2 separate regions of the Homo sapiens genome follow, and region 2 is linked to region 1. Evidence: promoter capture Hi-C in human tissues and cell types (Jung and others, 2019). All regions are on one chromosome and are shown on one strand. The core of a region is centred on a gene start or on the middle of the fragment in contact, and the rest is flanking DNA. Distances in the headings are between cores, read along the strand shown.

Region 1 (6,814 bases), core at 758-3,257:
CGTGAAGCCCCGTTTCCTGGCTATGAAACGTGGGCTCTGCCAGATCCGCGAACAAGCACTACCTGTGGGTGCCAAGGCCAGGCTCAGCATTCCGCTTGGCATCTTCCTGAGTGCCAGCCCCAGCAGCAGGCCCCTGCCCTGGCTGGCACAGACTCCCTGGGCTTAGTCCTTGCTTCTCAGGGTGTGGGACAGGCAGGAGGCTGAGGTTGGAGTTGGGAAGCAGAGCCACGTGAGAGGCTGAGCCACATGAGAAGCCACGGCCAAGCTCTCAGACTCCACCTCTTCCCGACTGCCCCACCTCCCCTTCGATTTTCCTTTGGAAGAGCCCTGGGACCTTGCCATTCCTTCCTATGCCCATTACAACAGCCTGACCCAGGCCACACCCCCAGGACCTGGAGGCCCACAGGCCTGGCCCCTCCTTTCACTGGGCTGCCCTGCACAGGCTTGAAATCCTCAGTCTCCCCCGTTCCTCCAGGGATAAAGGCCAAATTCCTAGTCTGTCAACTGAGACCTTCCTCAGTCGACCCCCTCCCTGCATGACTTCCCTCTATCATCCCCCTCTTCCCTCCTGCAGGGACTGGGTCCACTTCTTGTTCCAGAACCCTCTTTCCAGCTTCGACTGCCTTGTTCTTAGTGAGCACTGCCCGGGAATCCCTGAGCCCCTCACATAGTGACCCTGCACTGGAGGGCTCACCCGAGACTCAGCCAGATTCCCAGCTAGACAGGCCCGGGCCTGAGTCCTAGAGGAACCCCCAGGCTCCCTTGCTATGACCCAGAGTTTAGCCCAGCCCTTCAGTGGCCAAGGCTGGAGGGCATGTGTCTGATGAGGATGACAGTGGGCTGGGGGTGGGGCTCAGAGGAGATCCTAAGGAGGCCTGGGGATGGGAATCCTGGATGGGGAGATCAGGCAAGGGTGGGAAGGCGGACCGCCCCCAGGACAGGGACCATAGTCGGACACAGGACATAGTCGCACACAACTTGCCCTCAGAAGCGGCAGGCGAGGCTACTGACCTTTGGGATTCCGGTACCGGTCCTCCGATCTGGCTGCTGGTACTGGCTCAGCTGCTGGGTGGGAGGAAGTGGGCGGGGCCAGTCAGGGCCTCCTCTGGCCTGGGCTGCCCCACCCCTGCATGCCCTCTATGTTCCCGGAGCTACTTCCTCCTTCCATGACAGCAGCTTCAAGACCCCTCGGTCCTCCCTGCCCCCAGTACTTGGGAGACAGATATGGGGTGGGGGTACCGGAAGCCCTGCCCCCAGCCCCCTTTCTGCCTTTGACCCTCATGGTGGCTTTGAGCAGGCATCTGAATGAGACAGGAGGGACAGGGAAATCTCAGTATTTTGAGAGGCCAAGACAGGAGGATCGCTTGGGTCCAGGAGTTTGAGACCAGCCTGGGCAACATAGGGACACCCTGTCTCTCTTTTTTTTTTTTTTTTTAAAGAGAGACAGGAAGAAAGTCACAGCCCGGAGGATCTTTCACCTCCCAGAGGAGGGGACCACATTTGGATCTTGCATCTTCCAGGGTCCGGTTGGGACAGCCTCTCCCCTCCCGACCCCCAGGCACCGCCCTCAGCCTCTCTTCCTCCTGAGCCTAGTTCTTCCACGGTCCTGGTTGCTAACTCTGGTTTGCTCCTCATGCCCAGCTCAGCCTGATGCTCTCCAGGCAGGAGAGGAACTGGGGCCACAGGCTCCTGAGCCCATCACCACGTGCAGCTGACACCCACAGACCCAGGCCCCAGGGCCATGAGAGGGAGACAGGCGGTAAAGAGTGAGAGACAGAGGAGGAGGGTGGAGCAAGCAGGAGGCAGAGCCGCAGGGCCCAGACAGCTGGAGATGAGAGCAAACCCCACAGGCCTCGTCGTGGGTTCTGTACCTGAGAGCAGCAGCAGCAACGCCACCATCCAGTGGCTGGGCACAGGAGACAACGCCAGCCTGGCCATGGTCACCGCTCTGTCCCCGACCCCAAACCCGTGACAACGTCCGAGGCTCCTTGGAGGAAAACGTGTAACTGCACCGGCTGCAGCCTGTCCCCTCCCCGCCTCTTCCTCACCAGGCCCCTTCCTGCCATGCAAATTGGGACCCAGGGGAGGCACCAGCTCTCCGGGGACCCTGGGGGAGGGCAGGCTTTTGTCAGCTGGGCCGCTAAGGTTTGGCGGTCGCCCAGCTTGGGCAGCACAGCTGGGGTCCTCTGTGGATGCCTCTGGGGGGCCTCTCAGTCTTCTGGGGGAAGCCTGTGCTCCCCTCTGTCTGTGCTTACCCCACCGGTGGTCATCCCCTGGGCCAGCCAGCCTCCCCTCTGCCGTCTGCCAACTCCCCGAAGGGCCGAGCCCGGCAAGTCTCTATTCCTGGGCCGTGAGCGAAATAGGCACCTGTCCTATGAATGAACCTGAACTTAGCTCCTCTGTCCTGAACTATTCCTCACCCAGCGGGAAGAGGAGCACTGAAGAAGGACAGGGCAGCCACAGACCCAGGTCAGGCATCTGGAGGGGCCCAGAGCAGAGCCTCTTGGCTGGAGTGCAGGCAGCCATGTTGGAAGTTGACCCTGTGGAGGATGGGAGCCACAGAGGTTCTGGAGCAAGAGCAGGTCAAGTGTGGCAGCCACTGGGAGAAGATTCAGTCCAGGTCTTGGTGAGAGGCCTCCCTTCCTCATGCTGTGAAAGAGTATGTAGGGGCTGCCAAACAGGGTGGATGTAGGTGGAGACAGCTTTGCGAAAATCCACCACGCAGCCACTGGGGGCTTCTTCAGGGAGTTCTTAACTGTGGGACTCTGAGTGCGTTGAATTGTTGTCTGCAGGTCCAGGGGGTCTTGGGCAGGGAACAGGAGCTGGTGTGGGGGAGCCCTCAGGTCCTCCAGCTGTATCCTGCCTGTCCTCAGAGTGCTGGATGGAGCCACAGTGCTCAGGAACTGATATAAACTCACCTTTGCGCCCCTGCCCCTGGGTCCAATGCAGCCCCTTCAGAGATGCCCTTGTGCAGGGCACAACATGCACAAGTGTACACAGCATGCTTGCAGACCTCAGCCCTGCAGCTGAGCCCTCTGAATTTTATGTTTCCTGGCAGCTTCTTTTTTGTCTCTCATCCTCGACCCCCAGGAGAGGAAGAGATGCTAAATCGTCGGTGCCCTCTGTCCACCTCTCACTCTCCTCACAACCCTCCGTTTTCCAGTCTGTGCTGGGGCAGGTCTGTCTGGATTTAGGGAGAAGCAGAACCACCTCCCATGCCATGGTTGGAAGGCAGAGGGTCTGGGTGGTCCCTCTTTAGATCTTGGCCTAGGCCTCGGACCTGATAAGGTGGGGGCCACTCTCAAGGGGTGCAGGCCAGGACCTGAGCCACGGAAGTCAGGGGCAGGAGGGTTAAGGTTTCATCCGAGGAACAGCCCGTTCCGGGCAGCCCCAGATGTTCTTTCTTGTTTCCAGATGTTCCAAATGAAAAAACATTTCTCTGAAAAGCTGTCAGATGTTCAGTTCATGGAATAAACAGCTCAGAAATATAAACATCACCTGAGGTCAGCTTGAGGCCCATGGGCCCGCATGCTGGTGAGGGTGGCTGGAGAGAGACTGACCCGGGGGGAGTGGGGCAAAATCTGGGAGTCTCATGGTTTAGGAAATACTCTTCCTGAGCCCCTAACGACAGAGTCCTTCATTAACTTTGGGGCTAGTGTCTCCCCAAAGTTGGGGGGTATAACTGGGAAAGGCTTGGGGCACACGTGTTTGTGGGGGGTGTGTGTGTGTGTGTATGTGCATGCTCACACAGGTGTGTTGCCTGGACCCTGTGGTGTGGGGCCTACTCTGGAGCTGGTCCTAGGGCTCAGCGGACTGTAGGGGGCACGGAGGTTGGTGGGGGGCAGTTGGCACCCATCCTCAGGTGACAGGTGCGCTAAAATCTCAGAAATCACCACTAAAGAACTTATCCAGGTAACCAAAAAAACTACCTGTACCCCAGAAAATATTGAAATAAAAAATTTAAAAAAACAAGTGAGAAGCAGCTCCCACTCCAGGGAGGGAAGACACACACATCCCGTGGACAAGGATGCAGATGTGGCCTTTGGGCTTCATTCCCATTCATGCCGGGCAGGGATCTGTTTTCAGGAGGGGCGGAGGCAGCGGGGGCCCCACCGCCTGCAGGGTTATTTGTCACATTTTGAGCCGTGCTGTTCCCTCACTGGTGACAACAGCCCTGAGCCCCATTTTGGGCTCATGATGCCCTTTTCTTCCCAGAACAGGAGGCCTCACAAGCCTACCCCTGCCTCTGCCCTCGGCTGCCCGGGGCTTCACATTCTGACTTCTGACGACACCTCCCTTTCCAGGAAGGCAACATCAAAATAAGGAATGGGGGCCAGGGTCGGGCGAAGGGACAAGGGGCTCAGGGGGTGGGGAAGCAAGAAGGCAGCGACCCCCAGCCACCCTAGGATGCCGGGAGGGGGAAGAACCTCAGGGAAAGAAGAGCTCAGACCCCTGCCTCCTTCTCCAGCCCAGGTGTCCTGGATCTGCTGGGCTGCTGTGACTGGGAAAAGACCTGCTAAGAAGGACGTGGGTTTGAGTCCTGACCCAGCAGTGTAGCAGCCAGGAAACCTCCCCAGGTTACCAGTGGTTCTCTACTAAGGGTGGCTCTGCCCCAACGGAGGGAGCGTCTGCACATGCATCAGGGCAATCGCGCTGGTCTCAATGACCGGTGGGTGCCTGGGGCGGGAGGGGCATTGGCTGGCAAAGCAGAGTTCCCTGCCCCACATGCCAACAGCACCCATGAGGCAACACCCATTCTTAACCTCTCAGTGACCAAGGTTCCTCATTTTCGTAAAATAGAAATAAGCCCAATAGCGCGTTTTTTTGTTGTTGTTTTCTGGGGTTTTTCTGAGACAAGATCTTGCTCTGTTGTCCAGGCTGGAGTGCAGTGGTGCAATCTCCATTCACGGCAACCTCTGCCACCTGGACTCAAGTGATTCACCCACCTCAGCCTCCCGAGTAGCTGGGACTACAGGTCATGCTACTACACCTGGCTAATCTGTGTATTTCTTGTAGAGACAGGTTTTACTATGTTGCCCAGGCTGGTCTCAAACTCCTGAGCTCAAGCGATCCACCCGCCTCAGCCTCCCAAAGTGCTGGGATTACAGGCGTGAGCCACTGCGCCCGGCCCCAACAGTGCGTTGGTCGAAGGGCAGCTGTGCACATTGAAGGCCATCCTGCATCTGAGGTACTTGGTGAATGTGGTGGACGGCACGCCCTGAGGAGGGCGAGGAGTGCGAGGAGTGGCACGGATGCCTGGGGAGGTGGGTAGCTGTGACTGTTGTCCCAAGTTGTCTCTGTTTCTCACCCAATATGAGGCCTTTTTTCTTCCACCATTCAAGGCTCAAAGGATGTGTGGGCTTGAGCACCCTGCGCTCTGCAAATCTTCCTGTCCCTGATGCCAGAGAGGGCTCCAGGCGAGGTCTGGAGGAACTTAAAGTGAAAAGAATGTCTCCAGTGTCATTTCTAATAGAGCTTATTTGGATCTTCTCTCTTTTCTTGGTTAATCTTGCTAATGGTCTATCAATTTTATCTTTTCAAAGAACCAGCTTTTTTTTTTTTTTGAGATGGAGTCTTGCTCTGTTGCCCAGGCTGGAGTGCAGTGGCATGATCTCAGCTCACTGCAACCTCCGCCTCCTGGGTTCAAGTGATTCTCCTGCCTCAGCCTCCCAAGTAGCTGGGACTATAGGCGTGCAACACTGCACCCAGCTAATTTTTGTATTTTTAGTAGAGATGAGGTTTCACCATTTTGGCCAGGCTGGTCTCAAACTCCTGTCCTCGTGATCTGCCCGCCTCGGCTTCTCAAAGTGCTGGGATTACAGGCATGAGCCACTGTGCCCGGCCCAACTTTTTGTTTTAATTGATCTTTTGTGTTGTTTGTTTCAATTTCATTTGGTTCTGCTCTGATTTTTCTCATTTCTTCTCTTCTGCTGGGTTTGAGTTTAATTTGTTTTTGTTTCTCTGGTACCTTGAGGCATTTGTGGTCTTCCAGAGTTTTTGATGTAGGCATTTAATGCTATGAACTTTCCTCTTACTACCACTTTTGCTGTATCACAGAGGTTTTGAGAAGTTGTGTCATTATCATTCATTTCAAAGAATTTTTAAATTTCCATCTTGATTTTATTGTTAACCCCCAAATCACTCAAGAACAGATTAATTTCCATATATTTGTATAATTTTGAGGGTTCCTTTTGGAGTGGATTTCTAGTTTTATTCCACTGTGGTTGGAGAAGATACTTGATATAATTTTGATTTTCTAAAAGACACATGCACACGCATGCTTATAGCAGCACAATTCACAATTGCAAAGATATGGAACCAACCTGAGTGCCTACTAACCTATGAGTGGATAAAGAAAATGTGGTATATATACACCTCTTTATGGAATACTACTTAGCCATAAAAAGGAGTGAAATAGGCTGGGCATTGTGGCTCACACCTGTAATCCCAGTACTTTGGGAAGCTGAGGTGGGCGGATCACGAGGTCAGGAGATTGAGACCATCCTGGCTAACCAGGTGAAACCCTGTCTCTACTAAAAATACAAAAAATTAGCCGAGCGTGGTGGCAGGCGCCTGTAGTCCCAGCTACTTGGGAGGCTGAGGCAGGAGAATGGTGTGAACCCGAGAGACGGAGCTTGCAGTGAGCCGAGATCGCGCCACTGTACTCCAGCCTGGGCGACAGAGTGCGACTCCGTCTCAAAAAAAAAAAAAAAAAAAAGGAAGCGAAATAGCATCTTTTTGCAGCAACCTGGTTGGAGCTGTAGGCCATTATTCTAAGTAAAGTAACTCAGGAATGGAAAACCAGATAGCATAT
Region 2 (7,322 bases), core at 2,938-5,437, 280 kb after region 1:
CCAAAGCCTATATTCAGGGAACCTATTTTTAAAACCTATCCCTCTTATTAAATATCTACATGTGACACAATCTAAAGAAAAAAAAGTTCTCCAAAATCCATTTCTATTAGTTTCTGCAATGGCCTAAATATAATTTTAGTCAAACTTGCAGGCCATATCTTTAAAAAAGAGATGGATTATCACTCTGGAAACCAATATGCTACTGCTGTGTTCTGCTGGTGGTTTATAAATCTGAGATAAAGAATTTGCTCGTGAATATAATTCAAAATTGCATCTGAGTCATATACTCAAACATAAATCCAAGACCCTTATGAAATCTTCAGGAAGCTTTTCATTATAAACATGTAGAAAGTTAGTGTGCAACAGGAATGGCTCTGAATTAAAAATAATCCTGGGCAAGGGACCATCTGATTTGGCTAAGCAAACATGCCAAGTGCAGTTTGCTGACTCTAAATGCCCCATTTTCCCCGTGCCCAAACCCACCCTTTCCCAAGGTCCCCAGCTTAGGGCATCTAGACAGTCACCCAACATAAGAACTCCTGAAGGCTACCACACAGGGGGTGTCACTACAGGGATGCCATTGGTCTGTGGCACACACGAGGCTCTTTGCCTTGAGCTAACCTGCCCAGCCCACCATGCTCTAAGTCCTATGAGCTTCTTCTCACATTTTGGTATTGGCCTTTGTGCCAATACCATGTGCATTCACATGCCACTTCCTGTTGAATGCCTGTAGCAACCTTTCTCCTATTTGCTGCTTCTCATCAGCTATGAACTCCAACATACTAAGAACAAGCAAGCTTTGGAGGAGGTCCTAAGAATTCTTCTGTGGACTTTGTGACAGCTCTTTGGCCACATAGAGGTCTTACTTTTTTTTTTTTTTTTTTTTTTTTTTTGAGACGGAGTTTCGTTCTTGTTGCCCAGGCAATAAGAGTACAGTGGTGCGATCTCAGCTCACTGCAACCTCCACCTCCCAGGTTCAAGCAATTCGCCTGCCTCAGCCTCCCAAGTAGCTAGGATTACAGGCATGCCCCACCACACCCGGCTAATTTTGTATTTTTAGCAGAGAAGGGGGTTCCACCATGTTGGCCAGGCTGGTCTTGAACTCCTGACCTCACATGATCCACCCACCTCAGCCTCCTAAAGTGCTGGGATTACAGGCGTGAGCCATCACACCCGGCCTCTTTTTTACTTATATTCTAGACAGTACAGCTGCTGATCAAATGGGTTCAGAGCGGGAGACGGCGGAGTACCATAGGGCCTAGACAACCACACAACAGTCTTTGAGATTAGCTACTACTTGGCTGCAAATTGGTCTTTTTGGTTTGTCATCCCATAAATGTATCACTGCTGCAGCATCATATATAAATACATATGTCTGCAGTGAGGACCCTGATAAAGTACACAAAAACTTTCCTTTTCTCCATTCTTTCCTCAGCATGTGAAGTTACACAGAAGAAAAACTGCAATGCTCCTTGAACTGTTCATGGAACCAGTAAAGGGGCAAGACTCTTAGTCCAGTCTGGCTGCAAGCAGTTCCTGGACCCATCAGTGAGAACTTATACGGCTCAGAGGTTCAAAACCACATGGTCTCCTAAAACAGTCCCTGAGCACCCAGCTCACTGCCTGACTGGTTCACAGCTCATATATGGAGTCCTCTTAGGGCATAAAGTATGCGGGATCTCGGTCCTGGGCTGGGCCTGTCTTGGAGATCTCGGTCGCAGGCAGGTATTATAGTCTTCCATATTGGTGAGCTTTTTAAAAAGGCTTCCGTACCTTCCCTCAAGAATTGCACCATCTTCTGTAAATACCAACTAAATTGGATCAGATGTACACAAAATAATTCAAACCAGCTCACTTATCCCCTGAAATCAAACATTTTCAATAAGTGGCTCTTTTGGCTTGCCCTAGAAACAAGTTCACAGGCCTGTTTTATAAAGAAACCAAGGTCTATCTCCTACATCACTTTAAAGCCATCAACCTGGAGGCAGAGTGGAAATCTGGAACTCATCACTGCCCACTTCTCCAATCCTCCACTTAGTATTTGCCTTTTTTTTTTCTTTTTTTTTTTTGAGACGGAGTCTCGCTCTGTCACTCAGGCTGGAGGGCAGTGGTGCGATCGCAGCTCACTGCAAGCTCTGCCTCCCGGGTTCACGCCATTCTCCTGCCTCAGCCTCATGACTAGCTGGGACTACAGGCACCCGCCACCACGCCCAGCTAATTTTTTTGTATTTTTAGTAGAGACAGGATTTCACTGTTAGCCAGGATGGTCTCGATCTCCTGACCTCGTGATCCACCCGCCTCAGCCTCCCAAAGTGCTGGGATTACAGGCGTGAGCCACCACACCCGGCCAGTATTTGCCTTTCTACTACTCCCTTTGCATTCAGGAGGGCAGCACTGCGTGAGCACTGGTCACAGGAGAGCAGACTTGGGTCACCAGTCGATTTCTAAGCAACAAATGTCAAGCTTCAAATCCTGTTAAAGATGGACTGTCTTGGCTTGTCCACTTTCAGAAAAAAAGCTTAGGAAAAGCTTTACTGTTTTGTTTTTGTTTTTGTTTTTGTTTTGTTTTTTTGAGACAGGGTCACACTCTATTGCCCAGGCTGGAGTGCGGTGGCATGATCACGGCTCAGTGCAGCCTTGACCCCCTGAGCTCAAGCGATCTTCCTGCCTCAGCCTCTCGAGTGGCTGGGACTGCAAGCTGCGCCACCACACCTGGCTTTTTAAACAAAACTTTTATAGAGATGGTGGTCCCACTATGTTGCCCAGGCTGGTCTTGAACTCCTGACCTCAAGCAATCCTCTGCCTTGGCCTTCCAAAGTGCTGGGATTACAGGGGTGAGCCACCACGCCCAACCAAAAGCTTTACTTTTTAGTAATTATTTTCATTTTCTTAAAAGATCACTCCTATTAAACCCTATTTTTTTTAAAGCAAGCATCAAGGATTTATTTTATTTTTTTAGAGACAGAGTCTCATTCTGTCACCCAGGCTGGAGTGCAGTGGTGTTATCATGGCTCACTGCAGCTTCAAACTCCTGGACTCAAGTGATCCTCCCACCTCACCCTCCTGAGTAGCTGGGACCACATGCATGCACCACCATACCTGGCTAATTATTTTAAATTTTTTGTAGAGATGGGATCTTGCTGTGTTGCCCAGGCTGGTCTCAAACTCCTGGCTTCAGGTGATCCTTCTGCCTCAGCCTCCCAAAGCTCTGGGATTACAGGTGTGGGCTACCATGCCCAGCTAGGGATTTCTTTTAAAAAGCAACATCACCAGGAGATGACAGGGTCAATACCAACTCACTGCTCAAATCTTCTGATAAAATCTCACTCCTTCATTCATCTACCCATCCATTCAGCCAACAATTACCTATCACATACCTAATACGTGGCAGGTGCTGAGGATACAAGATGAACAAGATGGACAGGGCCTATGCATTCATGAAGCTTATGGAATATTAGGGAAGACAGATAACAGTAAACTTGGGTCCTAAAGTTAATGTCAACGCTGCTAAATGTTTTAAAGTACCATAGTTTAAAAACGGTTCCCAAGAGTATAATCTCCCATTCAGTAAAATTAACTAAGTCCAAAGAACATTTGCATTTGAAATTAGCTTGTAACAGACAGCATATCCTTCTAATTCATAGTAGTGTCCCTTTTCTAAATAGAGAATGCATTCAGCCCAGTTTCTAAAAACAACACCGCATACCCAACAAAAGACTTCAGGCTAAAATATACTTTTCCTCTTTAGTAATGAAACCATTCTAAACAAGTTAAGGCTAAGAATGAAAAAAGAATTACCAAAGTGATCAGAGTTGTCCAAACAGCAATAAGGAAGAATAAATGCTTAGTCTATGACAGTTTGCTTGGATTAGGGGTGTCAGTCTATGAGAGCATTAAAGTACTTGTTCTCTACAAGGAAAATTCAAATACGTTTATCCTAGCCACTGTGGGCAAAACACCTTCCTTAAAAGAAAACACTGTCCTACAAGGCTCCACCACACACTAGCTGTGTGACCTTGGGCAATAACTTAACTTCTGTGGGCCTCCATCTGCATGAGCACATATACGCTAACTGAACAGGGTTGTGACGAGGATTGAATGAGATAATACACCCAACACTTAGCCCACTGCAGTGCTCAGCATCACAGTGTTGCCTTTATTCTTCCAGTGATCAGATCAAAGCAACCAGGCTGTGCTATAACATTAAAATCCCATTCCATCGGCACCCTGTGTAGTTAGTAAACTCTTGACATATCACAGTGATTGGATTGACACTAAGTAATTTACATCTGAGAAGAGGGTAGGAAAAAAACACTAAAGATTGACTGGATTAAAATTAAAATCTTCCTAAGACAAGTCAGTGCTCAAACCAGTTTAAACTGAATGCCACAGTCAGTCATTAGGTACTAGAGTTAATATAAGCGCAATTTTTCCTTGCTAAAGTTAGCACGAACTTACTTGGAGAGCACGTACTTCAGGTAGTCACTGCACCACCCTATCAGAAAAAGCTCAGCAACCACGCGTGAGTCATTTTTGCTCCACTTCATTTATTAACGCTAAGCTTAAGGGTGTCACATCCACAAGACTCAACACAGCTTCTCTTAAAGAAGAAAGTGTCATAACATATTGCCATGTGAAAGAAAGAAAAAAGGTCAGACTGCAAAATATATGATCCTATTAAATCAAAACAAAAAGAGTGGGTGAGTATGCATGTATGTGATGCATATCTTCATATATGCAGAAATTTTAAAAACCCAAAAAACTAGGATATATACCAAATCATTAACTGTAATTCCCTTCCACTAGTGTGATCAAAAAATTTTTTTTCTTTGGGTTTCCTGTGTTTTTAAAACATTAACCATGTATTTCCTTTGAACAAGGAAAAAAGTCAATGAAATTTAAAAACAAATATTATTTTGGATCCTAAAAGAATTCTCCCCAACCCCCAGCTTTTTTTTTTTTTTTTTTTTTTTTTGCAATAGGGACATCACGCTGCCATTTTTAGAGCATTCTCATTTAAATAGATGGGAGAATAATACCTTTAATTTAACTAAGAAGCCAAACAAGCTTTGAATTTGAAAAGCTAAAGATTAAAACCAATAATTAAGGTTCAAAATTGCTCCAGGGAAACGAAGTTCTCCTTTTCATACATCTCCTGTAACACAAGGAATTCTCCAGGCAGGTCTAGGCATGAACCTTCTGCAGAGAGGTGTCATGGGAAAAGCAGGAAGAGGACACACAAAGGCTCCAAAGCCTACCTCTGTTACTTATTTTATTATTATTATTATTATTTTTGAGACAGAGTCTCACTCTGTCACCCAGGCTGGAGTGCAGTGGCGCAATCTCAGCTCACTGCAGCCTCAGCCCCCAGGCCCAAGCAATTCTCCTGCTTCAGCCTCCCAAGTAGCTGAGATTACAGGTGCACGCCACCAAGCCCAGCTAATTTTTGTATTTTTAGTAGAGACAGGGTTTCACCATGTTGGCCAGGCTGGTCTTGAACTCCTGACCTCAAGTGATCTGCCTCCCTCAGCCTCCAAAAGTGCTGGAATTACAGGCGTGAGCCACCATGCCCAGCCTCTATTACTTATTAAGTAGCAAGACACCTTGGACAATGACCACCTCTCTCAGAGCCTGAATCTCCTCATGTGTAAAACTGGAAGCATCAAACTCCTGGATGGTTATGAAGCTGAATTAGATAACTTTTATAAAGCAGTGGTCTCTAAACTTTTCTGGCTTTCCACCTTATCTCTAAAAACATATACAATCAGCCCTCTATATCCATGGATTCAATCAACCTTGGATTGAAAATATGAAATTAAAAAAAATAATAACAATCCAACAGTAAAAAAGATACAAATTTAAAAATACAGCATAATAACCATTCACATTATGTTAGGTATTATAAGTAATCTAGAGATGATTTAAAAGTATACAGGAGAATGAGCATAGGTTATATATTAATACAAATACTATGCCATTTTACATAAGGGACTGAAACATTCATCGATTTTGGTATCCTTGGGGGGGGTCCTGAAACCAATGCCCCCTTGGATACTGTACATAAATGTGTGTGTGCATATAACTTACAAACTATATAAGTTCTAATTGTACTTTTATAGTGTGTATACACATAACCAGAAATTTTAATATGCAAAAAAATAATAATAAATAGAAGTTCTAGGCTGGACACAGCGGCTCACACCTGTAATCCCAGCACTTTGGAAGGCTGAAGCAGGAGGATCACTTGAGCCCAGAAGTTTGAGACCACACTAGGCAACATAGTGAGACTCCGTCTCAATCGACAGATTAGACAGCTAGATGAATGTTTCTTCCTGCTTCCCAATGAATTGTCCCAGGGACCCCTCAGGAGGCCCAAAAGCCTGACATCTGATATGCAGTGAAAGATGACATCTTTCTCCATCCCATTCCCCACCGTGCAAAGGAAAGAGGAGCACCAGCAGGGGCCAACAGCTGACATTAATTTGCCTTCTCTTCTTCCTTCCCTCCTCTTGCAATTCCGGGAGTATTTAACCCTTCTTCAAGGTCTCAAGAATAGTGAACCCTAACAGACTCAGCCATTAAAAATGCTCAGCAAGTAGCACATTCCAAGTAAGTTTAGAGACAGACCAGAACAGGAACTGATGTAAACACTATTCTCTAGAGTCACAGAGATCTTTCAGAAACTACTTTGTGAATCTGCAAAGCTTGGGTTAGAATGAGGTTTACCAGATGAGTTGACTGGGTGCCTGGAGAATGAAGTGGCCCCAAGCTCTTAAAAAACACGGCCTGTGCAAAAATCTTTAACAGCTAACCAAAAAACAAGTCAGATCTAAAATACGGCTGTATGTGAGAAGTGTGTGTACTAGCCAGCTCCCGGGGAGAGGCTTACCTTCAGTATTTCAGGTTCTTTGATATCCAGAGATCTTGTGTTCCAGTGTCGCAGATTTTTGTGTAACTTGTGATATTTATGAGCACTTGGTGGTGTAAAAAACCAAATCACGCAAACTGCAGTCATGAATCCAAGGCCAATTCCCAGAAAGAGTCCACTCACATAGTGGGGGAGGGGGAGGATGAGGTACACATAGACACACATTATAAAGAAGCCCAACGTCTTCACTGGCAATTCCGGGTGCTGCACGGCCGAGTCCACCTCGTCCTCACTGTCAAGGACCACACCATCTTCCGCGAGCACCTCTGGCTTGAGAGGAATATCTGAGAGCTTATCAACTTTACTCTCCCCCTCCGTTTCCAAATCGAAGTCCTCAGTGTACAGTTCACAAAACTCTTCATCTTCTTTGCTCACTAAGGCAGACAAAGAACAT

What was found. Contacts are between HindIII fragments. The study calls those that stand out against the background at their distance.
Region 2: a contact is called between a fragment that was not itself captured here and the fragment with the promoter of CD79B in region 1, in 2 of the 25 tissues and cell types used here (adrenal gland and dorsolateral prefrontal cortex).

Annotation. Positions count from the first base shown.
Region 1 is chr17:63,930,324-63,937,137 of GRCh38, forward strand. It overlaps CD79B (CD79b molecule), which reads right to left and starts at 2,008. Exons shown (of 6, transcript NM_000626.4): 1 at 1,872-2,008; 2 at 1,012-1,062; 3 at 1-62. The coding sequence starts at 1,938. RefSeq lists a silencer at 858-927 and enhancers at 1,625-2,014, 1,988-2,658, 2,515-2,624, 2,635-2,684, 3,258-4,862 and 2 more. The HindIII fragment of the contact is 19,928 bases long and covers 1-6,814 here.
Region 2 is chr17:64,205,685-64,213,006 of GRCh38, forward strand. It overlaps TEX2 (testis expressed 2), which reads right to left. Exons shown (of 12, transcript NM_001288732.2): 2 at 6,890-7,322. Among named protein-coding and RNA genes, the nearest start is that of TEX2, 54 kb to the right of the region's middle. The HindIII fragment of the contact is 3,395 bases long and covers 2,491-5,885 here.